Linked DNA regions of Homo sapiens: regions 2 and 3 are each linked to region 1. Evidence: promoter capture Hi-C in 16 types of primary human blood cells and fetal thymus (Javierre and others, 2016). All regions are on one chromosome and are shown on one strand. Each heading gives the region's core, a stretch centred on a gene start or on the middle of the fragment in contact. The rest is flanking DNA. Distances are from core to core; before and after follow the strand shown. Region 1 holds the start of TMEM266 (transmembrane protein 266). Region 2 has its middle 33 kb from the start of UBE2Q2. Region 3 overlaps FBXO22 (F-box protein 22).

The links. Contacts are between HindIII fragments. The CHiCAGO score rates a contact against its expected background, and 5 or more counts as called.
Region 2: a contact is called between a fragment that was not itself captured here and the fragment with the promoter of TMEM266 in region 1, in 1 of 17 cell types (endothelial precursors). The highest score is 6.1, in endothelial precursors.
Region 3: a contact is called between a fragment that was not itself captured here and the fragment with the promoter of TMEM266 in region 1, in 1 of 17 cell types (megakaryocytes). The highest score is 5.7, in megakaryocytes.

The regions. Positions count from the first base shown.
Region 1 is chr15:76,057,556-76,062,400 of GRCh38, forward strand. It overlaps TMEM266 (transmembrane protein 266), which reads left to right and starts at 2,430. Exons shown (of 11, transcript NM_152335.5): 1 at 2,430-2,461. It also overlaps a transcript of NRG4 not described here. RefSeq lists a silencer at 1,423-1,472. The HindIII fragment of the contact is 3,394 bases long and covers 578-3,971 here.
Region 2 is chr15:75,807,966-75,812,810 of GRCh38, forward strand. No RefSeq gene overlaps it. Among named protein-coding and RNA genes, the nearest start is that of UBE2Q2, 33 kb to the right of the region's middle. The HindIII fragment of the contact is 3,069 bases long and covers 1,062-4,130 here.
Region 3 is chr15:75,927,114-75,931,958 of GRCh38, forward strand. It overlaps FBXO22 (F-box protein 22), which reads left to right. Exons shown (of 7, transcript NM_147188.3): 6 at 2,771-2,936. Among named protein-coding and RNA genes, the nearest start is that of FBXO22, 26 kb to the left of the region's middle. The HindIII fragment of the contact is 1,236 bases long and covers 2,238-3,473 here.

The DNA.
Region 1 (4,845 bases), core at 1,180-3,679:
TCAATACCCTAAAAAATTTATCGAAGGGAGATTTTAGTTTGGGGAGGTGCTGTGAAGTAAGACATCACCAGGGGGCAGCATAGAGTTGACAAATTATACATGTTTTGGGATTTTTGACTTCACACTACAACATGAAATGGTTGCACCTACAATTTCCATTAACTCGGATTACTCAGAAAAGGACAAAACCCAGAACACTTAAGACACACGTAAACTTTATTAGCATGTAATTTTCAATACAATGGCTATTATATTATAAATACATAATATAAATATTTATAAATATAAATATTTTCTACAATGGCTATTATACTATAAATAGCCATTGTAGAAAAAAATGTTCCCTTGAAGTCGCATGAACCCGAATTCAAAAAAATTTTATTAGGATACAAAGATTCCTGGTAGAAATTTGAAGTGGTCTTCAAATTTCTCTCAGCAAGTTTCAAAATACTTGTCGTACTCTGAGAGTTAATTAGCGTTATAACTGGATGCTTCTCAATAGTTTCAATCAAATCTTAAGTAGAGTTCTACTAAGGTGGAAAATGGAGTGGATAACAATCTGGGCAAGCTATGCCAAAGCTTTTTCTAAAGAAAGTGTACCTAGTTAAAATGCTGTCACTGACTGTCAGAAAACTATAGCTCCCCTCCCGTGCATCCTCCATTAATTTTTCTTAACCCATCTCCACTTTCTCTATTCTAGTCCACATTTCTTCCGTCTAGAAATGTAGAAAAATCCTTTGGCAACCCAGGTAGCTTCCACAAGTATCATCTCCAAGTGTTTCTTCCTCTGAAATTCCACCATTAGAGATTAGAGATGAGTAGGAAATGCTGAAAGGCGAAGGAGGATCTGAAGAAATTTTACATTTTTTTCTCAGTTTGCCAAAAGTAGATACTCCCTGTATAGATATTCCCGTATAATCCAGGGAAGGTAGTCCAAGACCGTGGGGCAATTCCAAGAGGTGGTTTTGAAGTCCTTCAACTCTACCATTTTCATTTTATCCATACTAAAAAAGCTACGGCAGGAAGAAAAGACAAAGGACATTCCTGGGAGGCCAACTGGACCTAATCAAATAAAAACACTTTAGAAGAGGTACAAGAATCAGAAATCAAACCTATCTGCAGAGCCAAAAGCCATTCTGAAACTCCGTGTCCTAGAAACAAGGGTTTCCCATCTTTTCAAATATTTTAAGATAAAAATCGCAACACCCTATAGGAAAATGGCTATATTTTTAGCAAGAATTGGTGGAGAAGACAAACGATAATAAGCTACTATGAATCCAGAAGCTGCTTAAATGGCCGTATTCACAGCAGCCCTTGCAAACATTAATTAGAGTAGTACCCATTATGGGTGAGGACTTTTTTTTTAACCACAGAGAATATCTGTGGGTGCATCCAGATTGCTCAGTGGTTCCGTTTAACCCACCCGGTAACTGGCAATCATGGCCCTAGGACAGGCTTCTCCACCGGGGCGATGCTGCCTCCAAGGGGCGCAATGTTACTTTTTATGCATCAAGCACGGATAACACATACAGCACATAAGCAGGTCGACAGTGTATCTGCGGTACTGGGATTTCACGGGGAAAGGAGATGGGGACGTGTAAAAAGCCTTTTTAAGAGTCAGATAACGAAAAACGGAAAAAGAGGAGAAACACGGTCCTACAAGGGTCCTGAGCTGAGGCCATCAAATGAATGTACTGACAGGTATTTTTCTCCCAGGCAGCCAACTGAGAGTCAAGGCACTCTGACCGTGCTATGACTCCGGCCACACAGAAAGAGGTGTTTTCCCCTCGGTGGCCTCCAAGCGCAGCGGGCACTGCGTGCCATCCGCTCCCTCACCGGGCGCCCCGCGCGGATGAAACGGAGCAACTGGGAAAGAGCTCTGGAAACTGCAAAGCGCTGCGCCAAAGCGACGGGAGGTTCCCATTCTCAGCTGTACGAAATCCCGCGGGGGTCCTCCGCTTCCCCGAGCGACGCCCTCGGCCTCCGCACTTGTTGCTTCTGCGCCCCGCCTGCGTCCCCGTCAAACCCACCCTTCGCGGCCCCCTCGCCTCTCCACACGCTCGCACTCAGGCCCCGACCCTGCCCCGCGACCCCCTCACCCACGCCACGAAGCCCGCTCTGCGTGGCAGCCCCGGAGACAGCCGAGCCCCCGCCTCCGCCCCCTGCCCAGCTCAGGCCGCCAGCCCCTGCCAGCCGACGCCGCGGTTTCCTAGACAGCCGCGCCGCCGTTCCGCAGCCTCGGGGGCGCGCGCGCGCGGCCGGCGGGAGGCGAGGGCGCAGGCGCGGGCTCGGCCAAGCCGCCGGCGCGAGGCCTCGCGCGCGCCCCCGAGCGCGGTGGGCGGAGGGGCGGAGGGAGCGGCGGGGCCGCGAGGGGGCGGGGGGGCGGAGAGGGGAGCCCCGGGAGCGCGAGCCGCGGCCGGCGCCGCTGCAGAGCCGAGCGAATCCCGAGCCCGGGCAGCAGGTATGTGTCCTCGCAGCCGGCCGCGGCCAGAGCTTCCCCTGCCTCACTGCCCGAGTCTTGTGGTCGGGGCGGGGGGTGGGGGGACCGGTCAAGGTTTGCAGGATGCGTGCTCGGAAGGGCTGGGATCTTGCCGCTGACCTTCATCCCCCTGGCCGGGGGAGCCAGGCGAGGGTGCGTGGGGCAGCCCAGGGCTTCAGCTCCAGCCTGGAGACCTGCTTCTTGTCACATGCTTCTTATTTATTTTTGCAAACTGCCCTGGTTCGGGTCCAGCTGCAGATGCCTTACCTCCCATTCTTTGCCTCCGTGTGCCATCTTGCATTTATTAATAAAACATGCAAGCTGGAGGGGGGGGTTGCTGCTGGGGGGAATCCCATTGCAGTATGGCAAGCGGGCGCCTATTTTCGGTTTTCAGACGTGGTATAGAGGTGGAAATCCCACACCCTGAGGATTTGTGGCTTGGTTGGTCGTGACCACTTCCTAGTGGGCTTCCCCCGTTTGTCGGGAGGTGCCCCAGCGGCAGAATGGGCTGTCTGGAAGGGATGGTGGGTCTTCACCGTCAGGCCAGAATCCCCTTCAGGGGACAGGTGCAAGCTAGGGCAGGCAGTTCCCTGCTTGCTAACTTGCCAGGGAGGCTTAAACCTAGAAAATTGTCTCCCTTGATGGCCGAGAAAAGATGGCCTTCAACAGAATCCCTGGGACTTGCATACTCAAACTCATTACGGTTTTGCATCTGAACATGACTAAAGCTAGCCACCTGTTGGAAGTCAGACCCCATGAAACACCCCCGTAATCTAGCTCACCCATCCCTGTTTCACAGTCACCAATACTGAGCTAGCAATAGGCCCATATGGGTTCCCTCTATCCTCTTTAATGCTGCTTGGCTTTTCTTTTAAAATAAGACCTACCTATGATTTGATGCCCTATATGTGAGAGGTTGAAATTATATGATTTGTTTATATTCCATACACCTATCACATCATATCCTAAAGACTGAATTTCTCTTCAGTGCATGTGTTTATTTCCCTGGCTTTTCACCTTGCTTTGAACAACAGTGGGAAAATGGGATGTATATAACTGCTTACCTCCTCCCCCAAATACCTCCACCCTAAAATATTGTGATGAAAAGAATAGTAAGAGCTAGAAGCAAAAAATGAAAATGGTTATCACAAGATGTTGGGATATGATAGCTGAACCGTAATTGCTTCTAAAATGGTCAGAGTGTCACATCTAATCACGAGAAGGACATGTTTCTTAAATGTTCATATGTACCAGGTACTGAGCTAAAACTATTTGTGTATGAGCTCATTTAGTCCTCACAGCAAACCTGCTATGTCCATGTTGAAGATGAACAAGCCAGGACTTAGAAAGGTTAACTAACTTGCCCAAGGTCACACAGTCAGGGACAGGGTAAGGATGCAAACTCAAGCACATGGGGATACTGGAGGTGGGGAGCCCTGAGGGGGCTTTTCCTCCAGGTGCGGCTGCTCCGTGTACCTTTTCATTAAAATCAAGCTTATGCATGAGCATGTTGGCTTGGGTCTAATTTTCCATTTCATAGATTCTGCACCAACTTTGTGGCTTTCCAGTAAGAAAAGCAGTTGTTTCAGAATGGATCAGTATGGAATTTTTTGAGGTGGCACTAAACCTATAAAAAGTGGGGTCCAAGATGTGCTTCCATTTAATTCTCACACACAAGGAGTTGAGTTTAAAAAGTTGTTTCCCTCCAGATTTAAACCCATAAAACGTATATGCATTAAGTAGAATGAATCACTCCCATTTTCCATTATCGCATCCCACCCTACCCTCCTTGCTGCCCTTCACACTATCTTCTGGTCTCACTGCCAGTCATCAGAGCAACATTGTCTATCACACTTGCCTGTGAGTGCCTTAATGGGAGGAAGGAATCCATCCGTACCAGCCGTGGCTCGTAATCCAGTCTCTCTATGATTGTAGCAATTATGCATTCAAAGTTCTTGGAATCTCTGCATTCAGCTATGGATGTGTATTTAATCATTTTTTTAAAGTGCATTATTATAATGCAGGTATTGGATTTTGTTAAACATTCCTAGCAGTTCTCATGGACTTAGAAATTGCTGTAGTTGCATCAGTGAAAATTCACCCAGTGGGGCTAATAGCTTTTCTACTCAGGTCACATAGTTGAGATAGTGGTGAGAAAGGTATAGGTGAATAGAAGGAATTATTTGGAAAGTATATCCCATGCAAATAACAGCTTTTAATTATAAATTGATGAATAATATTAAGTAGGAAATATAAGACTATCTCTTTTAATTTTATAAGCTCTGTTTTTGCCTTGGTCAATGTGATTGGTTTTAGAGCAACATGATGTTACCTTTTTCATTACACTGTTCTTTTGAAACAGTATA
Region 2 (4,845 bases), core at 1,346-3,845, 250 kb before region 1:
GGGAAGGAGCCTGCAAATCCTAACAGCGCTGGTGATTCTGAGTCCAGGTATTCCTGAGGCCCAGCTGTTCCCTGTCCTGCCCATGGCTAACTTACTGACCAATGAGCTTCCCTTCTTGCCTAAGCCAGTGAATTTTCTGTCACTCACATCCAAAGAGCCCGGACTGTAATGGCAGGGTATGGCAGGGCTGAGCTGGCTGGGGCAGAGGACGGTGTGGGTGGAATCAGCAGTGACAGGCACACAGGAAGTGCAGGTATCGAGTGGCCTCCATGAGGTCTCCCTCCAGCCCCGACTGTGAGCAAGGCTGGGCTCATACGCTCAGTAGGTCAGAGTGAGGGATTTGGTCAGAGGTGCCATGCTCAGGGCCATCTTTCTATGGGCCAGACTCTTCGTCATCAAAGGTTTTGCCATCAGAGACAGTTTTAGTCCTATCTTGGGTTCACTTGATCAATTGCTGTTCTCCTGCTTTCAGGATCTTTACACTAGGCTGCCCTACCTGGGGGTTAGGAAGCCATAGGCATCCTGGTCATAAGTCTGGACCCCAAAAAGGGCTTCTGCCAGCCTGCTAAGGGTTCCAGAGGGCAGGACTGAGGGGTGGTGGGAGGAGCCCAGCCTGGACGGCCGAGATATATATAGTGCTCTTGATTCATCTCTTGGAACTTTTCACCCATCAAGTTTAGGCTCCCAGTGGGGCACACATGGGAAAGACAATGCCCATGTCTTCAACTAGTTTCCCCATCAGAAGTGGTCATTGCACCAAGCACCCTCCTCCATTAAAACCGGACAGGCCAAGGGCCGCTTTCCTAATGGATGAGTCTTCTTGGTCTGTCTCATGTTCCCAACAGAGCTCCCTCCATGGGATGGGAAGGTGCCATCCCAGGGCCGCCGTTTTGACCCAGCCTCCAGCCAAAGCTGGTCCCCCTGCCAAGCAGGCCCTAGAGTTACACTGGAGAGTGACAAGCCTCATCTGAAGATTTCTTGCTGAAAATTGTCAGTTTCCTGCACAAGTACATCCTGGCAGTTTACACATTTATGCTTAGCGTTCCATTACTGGAACGCTAAGCTTGTGGAGTTATTTATATCCTACTGCTCAGTGTCATCGCCAAGGTCTGATTTTTCACAGAAAAACATTTGCAACCTCTGACATAATGAGTTAATTCAAATTAAACCCAGAAGGAGACTGCTGCTTCAGTCTCAACTGCTTGGAAATTGTGCTATGTAGAGCTTTCGTTTACTGAAAATTGTGCCTTCAGACTCTGTGCAGATTAACCTACTACATAGAGCAAGTACACACATAGGGCACCAACCAAGGACAAGTGTGTACCTGTGTGCACACACAAATAGAAAATCCAAAAATAAATATTTTAATTTCAGCTATCATGGAAGTTTTGTGTCATTTCTCCAAAAATGCCCATGTCAAATTTTATTTTATAATTTAGTCTTGTTTTTATTTAGAATTACTTAAGAAAAAGGGGAGCTGAGTGTGGTGGCTTATGCCTGTAATCCCAGCACTTTGGGAGGCTGAGGCAGAGGATTGCTTGAGCCCAAGAGTTTAAGATCATCCTGGGCAACTTGGTGAAACCCCATCTCTACAAAAAATACAAAAATTAGCCAGATGTGGTGGTATGTGCCTATGGTCCCAGCTGTGCAGGAGACTGAGGTGGGAGATTCATCTGAGTCTGGTAAGTTGACGCTGCAGTGAGCTGTGATCGCATCTTTGCACTCCAGCCTGATGACAGAGAGAAACTGTCTCAAAAAAAAAAAAAAAAAAAAAAAGGAAAAGGAAGAAAGAAAGGCAAAGAAAGAAAGAAAATGAAAGAAGAAAGAAAGAACGAATGAATGAAAGAAAGAAAGAAAGAAAAGAAAGAGAGGAGCTCTGCACAATAATTTTGCAGTGTCTTGGGTCTCTAAAGATCTTAATTAGGACCTAAACTCAGATTAGGCTGGGATCCTGGGCAGTGTGGCCCCAAATACAGTTATGGGAGGCCCTTCCAAGATAAGTCTAGACTGAGATAGAGTAGGTCTCAGGAGAGGGGCTGATATGCCCATGGTTCTCAACCTGGCTGCACCTGGAGAGCTTGGCATCACCTGGAGAGCTTGAAAACATTCTGATGCCCAAGCCCCACCCTAGAGATTCTGAGCTAATTGGTGGGGGATGGCCTGGGCACCAGGAATTTTCACAGCTCACCTGATGATGGCACTGTGCAGCCAGGGTAGAGAAATACTGACCTTTGCTTTCTCCACGTTGTGTCTGCCTTGGTTTTCCCATATTCCCCCAGGCTCCAGGATCTGAATGAACTACAGGAATTGAGAATTAGCCCTCCCACCCAGCCACTTTCTTCCCCTGCTGGGGAATCTTTGAGCCTTCATTTTGGCTATAGGCCTCGATATAACTCATCGGCCCAGGGATCGGGGCAGGAGTGGGGCTCCTGGCAGAGAGCAGAGTGTGGGCTTTGTAGTTACACAGACTTGCATTCAAGTCCCAGCTCTGTGATGTCAGAAGAAGATCTGATCCATAGTTGGTTACCCTGCGAAGTGGAGAAAGTGTCCGCCTAACCGGCAAGATCTCTTTGAGACTGAAATGAGAGAAAGCTGGGGCAACAAGTGAGTTCCTTCCGCGCCATTTCTGTGAGCTGGCCCTGTAGCTTCTCCTTGGTCCTTTGAGTTCTCAGCTTTAGCTCTCTTACTCCTGCTCCTTCTCCTCACTCTCTCTCTTTTCCACCCTGGATAAGTGCCCTGCTTCTCCCCACAGGTTAACCACCCTCCCCCGTACCCAGTGGGTGATGAAAGTCTTCCCTGGTTGTGCCAGCATCTCCCTGATACTTCCTTTCTCTCCTGCATTCAACCATGATGAAGCCCAGCACAGTCTCCCTCTCTTGTGCCCCATTTCCACCACAAGGTCACTGTCAGCTCTTACACAGACATCCCCAGTAGCTTCCACTTTGGCCTCTTCCAACCAGCCATTCTGGTATTGCAGCCATATTCATCTTTAAAAGCCCAATATTATTAAGTCACTCTCTTGCTAAATTCTGCAATGGCTTTGACTCACCCTTGGCCTGCAGGATCTGGCCCCTGCCTGCCTCTGCAGCCACCTTTTGCTTCATTCTTTCTCTCTTACTCCCTCTATCACCTCAGATCCCTGAGGGTTCCCTCCCTCCTACCTCAGGACCTTTGCACATGCTGTTCTCTCTGCCAGAAACACTTCTCTTTGACAGTGAATGCCTTCTCAAATATCCCTTATTTGGGGTGTTGACTACCCACCCCATCAGATTAGGTCCCTCACTATATGCTCTTATATCTCTTTATACTTTTTCAATTAAATAAATTTTGATCACGTGATTTATGGCCATCTCCCCTACTAGACTGTAAGCTCCATAACATCAAGGACCAGGCCAGTTTTTGTTCATCGTTGTAACCCAAATGCTTAGCACTGTGCCTGGCACAAACTAGGGGCCATTTGGACCAAGTGTCTAGGTTGTGTAGACTTGCAGCCCCTGTGGAAGTGTGTGGATAAACATGAGAAACAGGATGACTGCCTCCCCAGCATGGCTTGAGTGTTTCCTGGATGTGTCCAGGCGGGTATCACATGCTGGGTGGCATCAGAGGAGTGCCCTGTTTTCCTTTTATAAGAGAAGGAAAGGTTAGAGACTATGAACAGTCAGCTGTGGGATCATACAGTGTCTGCCCTGCTCCACTTGGCTCAAGGCCTCTGGGGAATGGGGATATGGGACAGGGACATGGCGCATGGTGCAAGTGGTTGTGGCAGCGAGCCTTATGGAGGAACAGCAGTGAGTCAGTCCCTTCTTGGCATGGGACGCTGCCTCTGCAGGCATAGGAGGCCATATTCCCCACTCTCACACCCAGTCAGTTGGGTGCTTCTAACTTGAGCTGTGGCATTTGGCATGTAAAAAATGCATTCCTGGTTTTCCAGCTTGGATCTCATGGTAAGCAGGGGTGTGAGGTCTGAGGAGGATGAGTGTTTCAGTGGAGATGTCTGGATAACTTTTAGGATAAGTATATCCCAAACATTGCATGGGATATACTCATACAAAAAAACTATTTGCTGTTTATCTGATATTGTAGGTTAACTGCATATCCTATAGTTTTCTTTGCTCAATCTGGTGCCCCTAAGCTTGGGGCTTCCTCACTTCACCGTGGTGCTGTTGTGCCCTTCCTTCATTATACCACACTAGGCTCTTGGGGTACACAGAGGAGTGAGACAGGACCCTTCCCTCAGGGAACTCACAGTCTAACATAAGAGATAAGAATTTGAACAGAGATCGCCAAAGCAATGCAAACTCTATTTCTGAGAATTTGGGGACCCTTGTTGGAATAGAACAGCTTTAGAATTCAGAAGAGATCAGAAATCATGGAACAGAATAGGAAGTCCAGAAACAAACCTGAAGGTTTTTCTTTTCTTTTTTTTGGAGATGGAGTCTCACTCTATTACTCAGGCTGGAGTGCAGTGGTGTGATCTTGGCTCACTGCAACCTCTGCTGCCTGGGTTCAAGCAATTCTCCTGTCTCAGCCTCCTGAGTAGCTGGGATTACAGGTGCCTGCCACTACGCCCAGCTAATTTTTATATTTTTAGTAGAGATGAGGTTTCACCATCTTGGCCAGGCTGGTCTTGAACTCCTGACCTCATGATCCACCCACCTCGGCCTCCCAAAGTGCTAGGATTACAGACATGAGCCAGCACGCCTGGCCACAAACCTGAATTTTTATAAGAATATATTGTTTTAGCGTGTGATAAAGGTGGCATTAAGACCTCTTGAGCAAAGAAGAATTATTCAATAAGTTTTGTTAGAGCAATTAATTAACTACCTGGAAAAAAATTAAGTTAGA
Region 3 (4,845 bases), core at 1,606-4,105, 130 kb before region 1:
GAGGGGTGTGAGGCGGTAGGTCTGGCTAATGTATAATGCTCTGACACAGGGTTGTGAAGTAGCAATATTAATTTGGAGAGAGGATGGTGCTTCGCTTGACTCAGCCTCTAGGCTAAACTTTCCCTTTGGCATAAGGAGTTTGGAGGTCCTGAGATTTTTTTAAAATTTTCCTTTACATTGGGTATGTGTTTGTTAAATGAATGGGAGTGGTTGCCTTTAGAATATTCAGGTAGGATGTTTAGTGGATGTTGTAAAAGAGCATCTAGAGCTTAGAAAACAGGAGGAAAGGTTGAGATTTAGAAGTCATGAGGTTTCTAAAAGCTAAAGCCCTGAGTGTCAGGAGATGTGGGTTTTAATGTAGAGTCTGTCATTATATTGTCCTGGGGTAGTAGTCACTTCTCTGGCATTGGCAGTCCTTGTTTGTAAAATAAAACTCTAGACTTGATCTCACAGGCCTCTCCCAACTCTGAAACTTTGTTCTAAAGAAGAAAATATATTCTCTTAAAATTTCGTGGGCTAGTCTATAAGGGAAAAAAGATGCTTTAGCAATGGTTTGGGGTATATGATGTCATGAAAGTAATATTCTTTTTACTGTCCAAGTCAGTAATTTACTGTGTAGAGAATTGGAAATGGACCAGAGGCAGTTTCCCAGAATAGGTCATTATTTGGTGTTAGTAATTGGTCATTCACGCATCTGCATACCCTTTGTTTCCTTAAGTAACTCTCCTTTCTGGTAACCACCTTAGGTTTGTCAAGGTGGAAGTCATGTGGTCAAATCAAATGGAAACACAAGTGTGTTAGGTATTAGATTCATTTTCCTGTCCCCAAAGCACCCGTTTGGTAATGCTGGCAGAAGACATACATGCGGCCAACAATCATAGGAAAAAAAGCTCCACATCACTGATCATTAGAGAAATGCAAATCAAAACCACAATGAGATCGTATCCCATACTAGGCAGAATGGCTATTAAAAAGTCAAAAAATAACAGATGCTGGCAAGTTTGTGGAGAAAAAGGAACACTTATACACTGTCGGTGGGAGTGTAAATTAGTTCAGCCATTGTGGAAGATAGTGTGGTGATTCCTCAAAGACCTAAAGACAGAAATACCATTTGACCCAGCAGTCCTATTACTGGGTATATATTCAAAGGAATATAAATTATTCTGTTATAAAGACACATGCACATGTATGTTCATTGCAGCACTATTCACAGTAGCAAAGACATGGAATCAACCTGAATGCCCATCAGTGATAAACTGGATAAAGAAAATGTAGTACATATGCAGCCATAAAAAAGAATGAGATCACGTCCTTTGCAGGGACATGGATGGAGCTGGAGGCCATTATCATTAGCAAACTAACACAGAAACAGAAAACCAAATACTGCATGTTCTCATTTATAAGTGGGAGCTAAATGATGAGAATACATCGACGCAAAGAGGGGCACAACAGACACTGGGGCCTACCAGAGGGTGGAGGGTGTGAGGAAGGAGAGGATCAGGAAAAATAACTAATGGAGAATGGGCTTATTACCTGGGTGATGAAATAATCTGCACAACAAACCCCCATGACACACGTTTGCCTGTGGAACAAACCTGAACATGTATCCCTGAACTTAAAAAAAAAATCAAATTGATAGTCTATAAACAAGCTGCCAGAGGCTCCAGTGAAACCTGGGAGCTGTGGGCAGAGCAAGTAGGCTGTCTCTGTTACACTCTGCCACCTCCTAGCGGTAGCAGCTTTTAGTTCCTGTGTCACAGAATTGAACATTTTCCTGCTTTGCAAGGAACTTTCAAAGGCTAATTCGCCTTTACTCTCACCTGCTTCCGTGGAGGAGGTGAATAAAGCCTGTATTTCAGTGATGTAGTAGTTTCTTAGGCTGCTGTAACAAAGTACCCCAAATTTGGTGACATAAAACGAGAAATTTATTCTGCACAGTTCAGGAGGCCAGAAGTCTGAAATTGAGATGGCAGTAGGGGTAGTGCTACCTTGGGAGGCTGTAGGGGAGAGTCTGTTCTTTTTCTCTTCCTACCGCTCCAGTTTCTGCTTCTGTGGTCACACTGCCTTTTCTTCTCTGTCTCTCCTTTGTACATCTTTCATTATGAGGACACTGTCATTGGATTTAGAGCCCACGTGGATAGACCAGATGATTTAATCTTAAGATCCTTACTAACATAGCGAGACCCCATCTCTACCAAAAAAAAAAAAATTTTTTTTAAAGATCCTTTTTCCAAATAAGCTTACATGCATAGGTTCCAGAGGTTTGATGTGGATATACCTTTGGCATGGGCAGGGGGCACTGTTCACCACACTATAAGTGGTTAGCGCCTTTTCTCTCCTTTAAAAAATAAAAAATCTGTAAATTCTCACTGCTGCTAGCACAGCTCTGTGTAAACCAGTGTTTTTTTTTTTTTGTTCCCTACTGAGAGCCAGCTTGCACCTTGGTCTACCAAGAGTTGCTGCTCAGTACATAGCTGCTTCATTATTTGTGTTGATTGCATTATTTATTAACACAAATAGCCATTTAGTTTTTTTAATAGAAAAAATAATTAAGATTTTGCATAATGTTTGTAAAAAATGGAAAACTTGATACAGAGATCGAAGAGGATATAAAATAAGATAAAAAATAAAAAATGGAAAATTTGATAGCTTAAGCCACTAAATTGCCCTTAAGGTGGAGTGCAAGTCAGTAACATTTCATTTTGCAGCATGTATAAAATAATTTCTGTTTTAAGGCTGTCTTTAACTGTTGCTCTTCATTTCTCTGCAGGTCTTTTAGATAACCCTGAACTTCGTGTGGTCCTTGTCTTTGGTTATAATTGCTGTAAGGTGGGAGCCAGTAATTATCTGCAGCAAGTAGTCAGCACTTTCAGTGATATGAATATCATCTTGGCTGGAGGCCAGGTGGACAACCTGTCATCACTGACTTCTGAAAAGTATGTCTTGTGTGCTTCTGATTTCGTCTGTGAATGAAGGGAAATGGTCTCAGGTTTTGTCACTTTGGGGTTAACAATTTAAAAAACGTGTTTAAAGAATTATTAAGATAATAGTTCATTCCATTTTGTAGTAGACATTGGCTAAGGGGCTTACTGAACATAATTCTGCTTACGGTTGAATAATTACATTTTTATATATATTGTCCTTCAAGAACTTCCTTGAGTCACATTCTCCTTAAAATTTGACATTGCCTGTTGATCTTTCCTTTGACAGATGTGGTACTCTGTGTGACCTCAATGTGTCACCTCCTTTCTAGTTTCCTCCTTTAAAGGAAACACATGGTTAGAGTGTATCTTTATGGCAAAACTTCTCAGAGCTTCTAATATGCCCAGTGCTGTGGAAATCTGGAAGGAGAATAGCATTACCTGTGACAGTTCCCAAATGTGTTTGGTCACAAAACTTTTTTCCACAGAATGTCTTGCAAGTCGTACTGGTTTTTGGAAATTCTGTATTAGATCTTTTGAAAGGCTTTTTCAAGCTTAAAAATTGTGGATCTTTTTTGTTACTAAGGCTTTTGCTTTCAAAGATAAAAATATTTGCTCTTCTGTCTTGGGAGCCATTACTTCCTTTCCATCTTGAATGAAAATACATATCATTTTGAGTTTGAAACAATTAGGTGGACATAAATATCATTTGTTTCCAGCAGGAAAATCAGACCCTACCCCACCCTCAATGCTTGTAAACACTACTATTTGTTTCCCACTCTGTTTAATATTTGCATCCTAGAGTGGTGACATGGGGACAGACTGTTGCAGATCAGTATCTATAAGAATAATGTAAGTCATCCTAGTTATAGTCTCTCTTCTGGTTATCTCTATGAGCTAGATCTGGGAAAATAGCTAAAGTTGAGGTCCCTGGACTGCCAGGGAGGAGGAAGAGAGGAAGGCCAAGTACGTTGAATCCCAGGCAGGATATCAAACACTGGATTTTGTGCATACATACACTGAATTCTTGGTGGCTATCTAAGTTATTTCCCCTCTTGCCTAATTTTTCCTGTGTCTTTGCTATTAACTTAAATTGTGTACGGATAGGGCAATGGTGATTCAACATACAGTTTACCTTTGAAATGCAGATACCTCACTCAGACTTATAACATCTGAGGTGCTAGCTTGTAAGTGTAGCTATTTGTATATCATCTACTTTTTATACCTAATAAGAGAAACACCCCCCACCCCAATCATTACTCTTCACATGACCCATTAATTTTAATGTGGTCTTCATACTCTGTCAGTGGTTAAGAGAAACCATTGAGTAAATGAGGGCTCCATTTTAATAAAGTCCAGATAACCCAACTGACCCAGTGCCCCAAAAGGAAGATGTATAATTCTTTGAGGCAAGATTGACAATGTATATTAACAATTCTGTACCAAAGAGGAAATGTGATAAAGTTTTAAGAGCAGCAGAGGACTTCAGAAGACGGATTTTGCCCCTCACAAACTTGTTTTACTACTAGCTAGCCTTATTACTTTAGTCACTTAACCTTTTTGCGTCTTAGTTTCTCACTAATCCAGTGACTCTTGCCCATTTTATAGATTCAGATGTTGGAAGCATGATACAATACTTGTTTATCCCCTAGTGGATGTTCACTATATTATGCTTTATTACTTTTATCAATGTTGTATTTTCTTTTGTAAGGATATTTCATTTTTTAAAAAAACCAGGCAAATATAAACAAAAACAAAGCATGAGTTTTTACCATCAAATTAAGCTGAACTCTAGACTCAAAGCAATAAACAAGACAAAAAAATAACATAATCATATTTTCTAGTGGACTAGACATAAAGCTAAAACTTCTAGAGTTAATAGGTTTTTAAAATTATCCTCTGAGTGCAGTGGCTCATGCCTGTA